Regions from separate parts of the Homo sapiens genome. Here region 1 is linked to region 2. Evidence: promoter capture Hi-C in 16 types of primary human blood cells and fetal thymus (Javierre and others, 2016). All regions are on one chromosome and are shown on one strand. The core of a region is centred on a gene start or on the middle of the fragment in contact, and the rest is flanking DNA. Distances in the headings are between cores, read along the strand shown. Region 1 overlaps ZNF585B (zinc finger protein 585B). Region 2 holds the start of ZNF225 (zinc finger protein 225).

Region 1 (2,954 bases), core at 202-2,701, 6.9 Mb after region 2:
TTGGGCAGTGCTTGGTGACACATCCCATTACCTCACCTTAGATCAATGTCTACTGAGCCATCATTAGCTCTGCTTCCTCACTTCTTCACAGTATCTGATGGCCCATCACATGCTGCTCAACATCTTAGACCAATGTCTGCTCACCCATTACCTCCCTTCACCTCATCCAGCACTGTATCTGAAGCTTCACTATTCTTCCTTCAGTTTTGGATATTTTGTGATACAACATTATCCCCAACTTAGGACAATGTCAGCTGACTCTCAGGAGGGTGCCTGGAGATCACCTCTTCCTTCCTAACATACCCTAGAACAAGGTCTGGTCCCCTTCATTATTCCCATTTTACCTTACTCCTAAGTGTATCACTCCTCATGAATTCCAGGAAATATGGAGGAAAACACATTTCACTGTACATGACTTTCAATAATTTCTCCTTTATATTTATTGTAACGTGATATTTTAGTGCTGACATATATATGTATATGTATGCCCATTTATATAAAAGACTAGTTTTTAGAGAAATTTTAGGTTCACAGCAAAATGGGGCAGAAGGTACAGAGATTTCCCATATATCCCCTACCCTCACATATACACAGCCTCCCCCATCATCAACATCCCCCTTCAGAGTGGTACATTTGTTACAATTGATGAAACTACATTGACACTATCGGCCAAAGTCCATGGTTTAATTAGGGTTCAGTCTTGATGTGCATTCTGTGGGTTGAGACAAATGAATAATGACATGTATGCATTATTACAGAAGGATAAAGAGCCGTTTCACTGTCCCAATAATCCTCTGTGTTTCGCCTACTCCTCTAAACTCCTGGCTATTTTCTTTTGTCTCCATAATTTTGCCTCTGAACCATAAAGTATGCAGCCTTTTCAGATTGATTTGTTTCACTTAGTAATGTGGATTTAAGTTTCTTCCATGTCTTTTCGTAGCTTGCTAGCTCTTTTTTTTTTTTTTTTCTCATTGAATAATATGCTATTGTCTGGAAGTACCATGACTTATTTATCCATTCACCTACTGAAGGACACCTTAATTGCTTCCAAGTTTTGTTGATTATGAATAAAGATGCTATAAACACCTGTGTGCAGGTTTTTGTGTGAACATGACTGTAATATTTTAAGGTCGTATTTATTGAGGTATAATTTACATACAGTAATATTCACCCTTTTTAGTGTGGAATTCTCAAAGTTTTGACAATTACATCATGCAGTCAATACCACAGTCAAGACAGAGAACAGTTCCCTCACTTCCCTACATTTCCTCCTATTACTTTTTAGTCCATCCCTTTGCCCACCCCCAGGCCTTGATGATCACAAGCCCATTTTCTGTCTGTATAATTTTGCCTTTTCCACATGTTGTATAAATGGAGACATCCTGTGTGTGTCTCTGTCTGTTTATATATGTGTATGTATCTCTCTTTTTGAGTCGGACTTGTTTCATTTAATGTGATGTATTTGCGATCTATCCATATTGTTATATGAGATAAAAATGGAAAATAAGGTGATGAAAAGATGCTCGACATCTTTAATTTTCAAGAAAATGAAAATGAAAACCACAATGAGATACCTGTACACACCTTTTAGCATGCCTAAAAATAAAGACATAATGCTGAGAGTTGGCAACAATGCAGAGCAATGGAAACTTTCATGCATTGTTGGTAGAAATGTAAAATGTTACATTCACTTTGGGCAAAAAGTTTGGCAGCTTTTTTTTTTTTTTTTGAGATGAAGTTTTGCTCTTATTGCTCAGGCTGAAGTGCAATGGCATGATCTCGGCTCCCCACAACCTCCACCTCCCAGGTTCAAGCGTTTCTCGTGCATCAGCCGCCCAAGTAGCTGGGATTACAGGCATGCACCACCACGCCTGGCTAATTTTATATGTTTTTAGTAGAGGTTTAGTTAAGGGTCTCTCCATGTTGGTCAGGCTGGTCTCGAACTCCTGGTCTCAGGTGATCTGCCCGCCTCAGCCTCCCAAAATGCTGGGATTACAGGCGTGAGCCACCATGCCCAGCCTTGACAGCTTCTTATACTGTTAAACATACACTTATCATATGACCCACCAATCCCTCTCCTAGGTATTTGCCCTAGATAAGTGAAAAATTGTTTATATAAAAACACGGGTACTCAAATTTCACAGCAACTGTATAATTGCCAAAATTAGGAAACAACCCAAATGTAACAGTGGGTGACTAATTAAACAGTGGGTGACTAATTAAACATCTATACAATAGAATACTACCCCAACATGAAAAGAAGTGATTTATTGACACTGGCTGCAACATGGATGAATCTCAGAAGTACTCTTTTATTTTACTATGTGATAGTTTAAATGACATTTGAAAAATTATTAGATACTAGATTATAAATATAGATTTATGTATTTTATTTTATGTGTGCATATCATACACTGTATATTGTGTTGACAGTATGTTATAGCACATTATGATATTATACCTACTACAAAATAGTTTCCATTTTATATAATATATAGTATCGTATGATTATATAATTTTTATATTTTATATATCAAACTTTCATGTAACATTTTAGTTATTTCTACTTTTACATAATCACATTTAATGTTTATAGTATAAAGTTATAACTATAATAACGGGTCATAGGGTTCAGACAGCCTGCAGTTGGAGGTGGTCAATATTTTTATTGTTTGTCAAGAATCCCAATTCTGGCTGATTTAGCACCAAGGAAGCTTTCTCCAGCTTTGGGCTTTTGCACCAACTGTGTTCTCTGGGCATACACTGCTTCCCCAGTGCCCATGCATCTTGCTTTCTTCCCCCATCTTTGAAAAGCATCCACCCCACCATTTGTATCTGAAGTAACACATCCATTGGGGTCACTTTCTGCTGTATTATTTTGTATATATTTGTGTTGCAGGCATCACCATCTGATTTGATATTAAATATTTCTTTTTTTTTGGTTTTTCATCCAA
Region 2 (2,700 bases), core at 29-2,528:
TAGCCGGATGTGGTGGCAGGCACCTGTAATCCCAGCTACTTGGGAGGCTGAGGCAGGAGAATAGCTTGAACCCAGGAGGTGGATGTTGCAATGAGCTGAGATCGTGCCATGCACTACAGCCTGGGCGACAAGAGCGAAACTCCGTCTCAAGAAAAAAAAAGAGAGAGAGAGATTTACCACTTCTGTGGTATTCCAGCAAAAAATGCATATTTTGAAGTTAAACGTGAAATACATCAGAAAAACTCCAAATGAACATCTTTGACCAAAATAACTTCATCTATACTCTTCAAAAATAACAAGGATAAAATACCAAGAAAAAACGATGAAAGCTATGCTATCTTTCAAGATTAAAGACTAGAAAAACATGACAACTGAAAGCAACACCCATGCCCGAAGACACATCCTATACACTCTCGGTTGGGGTGAGCATCTCTGTCAAAGAAAAAAGCCAAGGATCACTCACGTAGAGCTTTGCCCTCAGAAGCCAAGAAGTCCCTCCCTGCAGCTCTTTTGGAAAGGTCGGGCTGGGTAAGGAGAAGGCTGTGAAACACTCTGACCGTGGTCGCCGTGCCCCATAAAAGTTAAATGCTCCTCTCCCCTCCTGGAAGTGGATGCAACCCTCGCCTTCCTAAAAGAGAGGTCAGAAGGCGTCCGGGATCACCCAGCGTCTTGCAGGAATCAGGGAGAAGGGCCGGTGCCCCTGCAGCTGGAGTTTCACCCCACCCGGGGACCTGACAGGCTTCGTGGGAAATTAACAAGAGACCACCAGTCACCAAGTGACAGGGGCTGCTTTAAGGCTCTCATTTGTGTTACCGCTTTCAGTTCCCAAAACGATTCTATTAGGATGGTCCTAAACTCCCCATCTTAAAGAACTGTAACGGGAGACCCAAGGAGATTAAGTAACATCCCAGCGTTTTATCGCGAGGAAGTGGCCACGCGCGTGGGGTGCAGGGAGGCCGAGTGGGCGAGCTCAGAGCCCCGGAGACCCTAAAACCAGGCGAGACGCGACCCGACCAAGTCCCAAACACCCCGGGGACGCGAGGAGAGCCCCAAGCCCAAGAAGGCTCCACTGACGAGAACGAAAACAGCGGCCCCGCTCCGCCAAACCTCTGCTCTCCGACGAGGTTTCTTTTCCCCTAATTCGATCACCAGTTCGTTAAGGATCCAATGCGTAGGTCCAGGAAATTCAGAAGGGTCTCGCGGAACTGACCCAAACTACCAGGGACAAAACTGCAGCAACCTCACAGTAACGGAGCGGAAGTGGCCCGCTACTCCACTGAGTGTCTGGACTCCACTTCCCAGAATTCCTGAGACAAACTGACCGCGACGACCCCGAGCGTCTGGACTACACTTCCCAGAATTCCCTGGGATCCACCTGCCGGAGTCAAATTGACCGAGACTCCACTGAGCGTCTGGACTACATTTCCCAGAAATCCCCTGATTCGCCTGCCGGAGCCAAGCTGACCGCTACTCCACTGAGCGTCTGGACTACCATTCCCAGAATTGCTTGTATCCTCCTTCTGGAGCCAGTGTGTACGACTCCACAGAGCATTTGGATTACACTCCTCCGAATGCTGAAGGAAAAACGCTCAAAATCTCATTCTTCAGGGGGAAGCGTTGCCACTCCGAGGTGCCCACTGGGAACGAATCCCAAAGCCACGAGCGCCTGCCTAGTGGGGAATGTGAACTGTTATCCTGAGAGTCGTCCTTCTCTCTCCCTGGTCCAGGACAGAAAATACTGAATAGACAGGAATTTCTGAAGTCTAAACGCCTCCAATGATAACAGGAGTGTTATTGGAAAGGGAACAAGCGAGAAGACACAGTCTTCGAGGAGTTAAGTTTTGCTAATCTAATGGTAAGAAATGGTTTCTAAATGTAGTTTTAATTTGTATTTGTTCTTTTGTAAATAAAGTGGAACATCCGTGCATATTTTCCGTTGCCACTATTATAGTCTTTGTGAATTGGTCAAATAGTTTGCCCACATTTCTATTGAGTGTTTAGTTTTTTCCCCTCCGTTAAGTATTATTTACATACTCATATTAACATTGTATCAAATATTGCTCAACCAAAAAGCTTTTTTCCTTTGACTTGTTTTTCGCTATGCAAAACGTTTTTAACGTGGTCGTTTTATTATTTAAAAAATATTTTTGAGGTGTAATTCACAAAACAAAATTATTTTAAGGCACATAATTCAATGGCAATGGCATCTAGTACGAATACAGTGTTGTTAATATATACGAGTTAAGAAGCCATCACTTAGGCAGATAGGGTATGGGAGCCCTCGGTAAGGCTTTTCTTTTTAATGAAAAGCAGCCCCAAATTATTTCCCTTCCTAAGGAAGAGCAGCCTGTAAAATCCAGCTGCCGCAGACATAGATACCAGCAGTTGTGCCAATCATGTTAAAGATGGCGGCTCCATCTTCCCTTCTCTTTGTCAGCCACGTGCACAGTAAGAAGCTGGCAAGATGGGCCAATCAACTGGGAAGCCTATTTGCATAAGAAGATTAGGGTGGGGCGACCAGCCTTCCCCACGCACTATGTAAACGTCATAACTGATCGAACCAATCTATGACCCCTATGTAAATCAGACACTGCCTCCTCAAACTGGTCTGTAAAACTCAGCACATTCACTGCCAGCCGACCCTTTTCCGCTCGGAGACCCCTTCCTCTATGGAGGAACCCGTTTCTCTTTCTCTTCTTC

What was found. Contacts are between HindIII fragments. The CHiCAGO score rates a contact against its expected background, and 5 or more counts as called.
Region 1: a fragment that was not itself captured here is called in contact with the fragment with the promoter of ZNF225 in region 2 in 7 of 17 cell types (naive B cells, non-activated CD4 T cells, naive CD8 T cells and 4 more); the score reaches 13.0 in naive B cells.

Annotation. Positions count from the first base shown.
Region 1 is chr19:37,179,710-37,182,663 of GRCh38, reverse strand. It overlaps ZNF585B (zinc finger protein 585B), which reads left to right. Exons shown (of 5, transcript NM_152279.4): 5 at 1-1,085. Among named protein-coding and RNA genes, the nearest start is that of ZNF585A, 8.5 kb to the right of the region's middle. The HindIII fragment of the contact is 2,530 bases long and covers 187-2,716 here.
Region 2 is chr19:44,111,977-44,114,676 of GRCh38, reverse strand. ZNF225 (zinc finger protein 225) reads right to left here and starts at 1,278. Exons shown (of 5, transcript NM_013362.4): 1 at 1,108-1,278. ZNF225-AS1 (ZNF225 and ZNF224 antisense RNA 1) reads left to right here and starts at 1,494. Exons shown (of 2, transcript NR_033341.1): 1 at 1,494-1,855. RefSeq lists an enhancer at 825-1,524 and a silencer at 1,217-1,567. The HindIII fragment of the contact is 4,811 bases long and covers 1-2,075 here.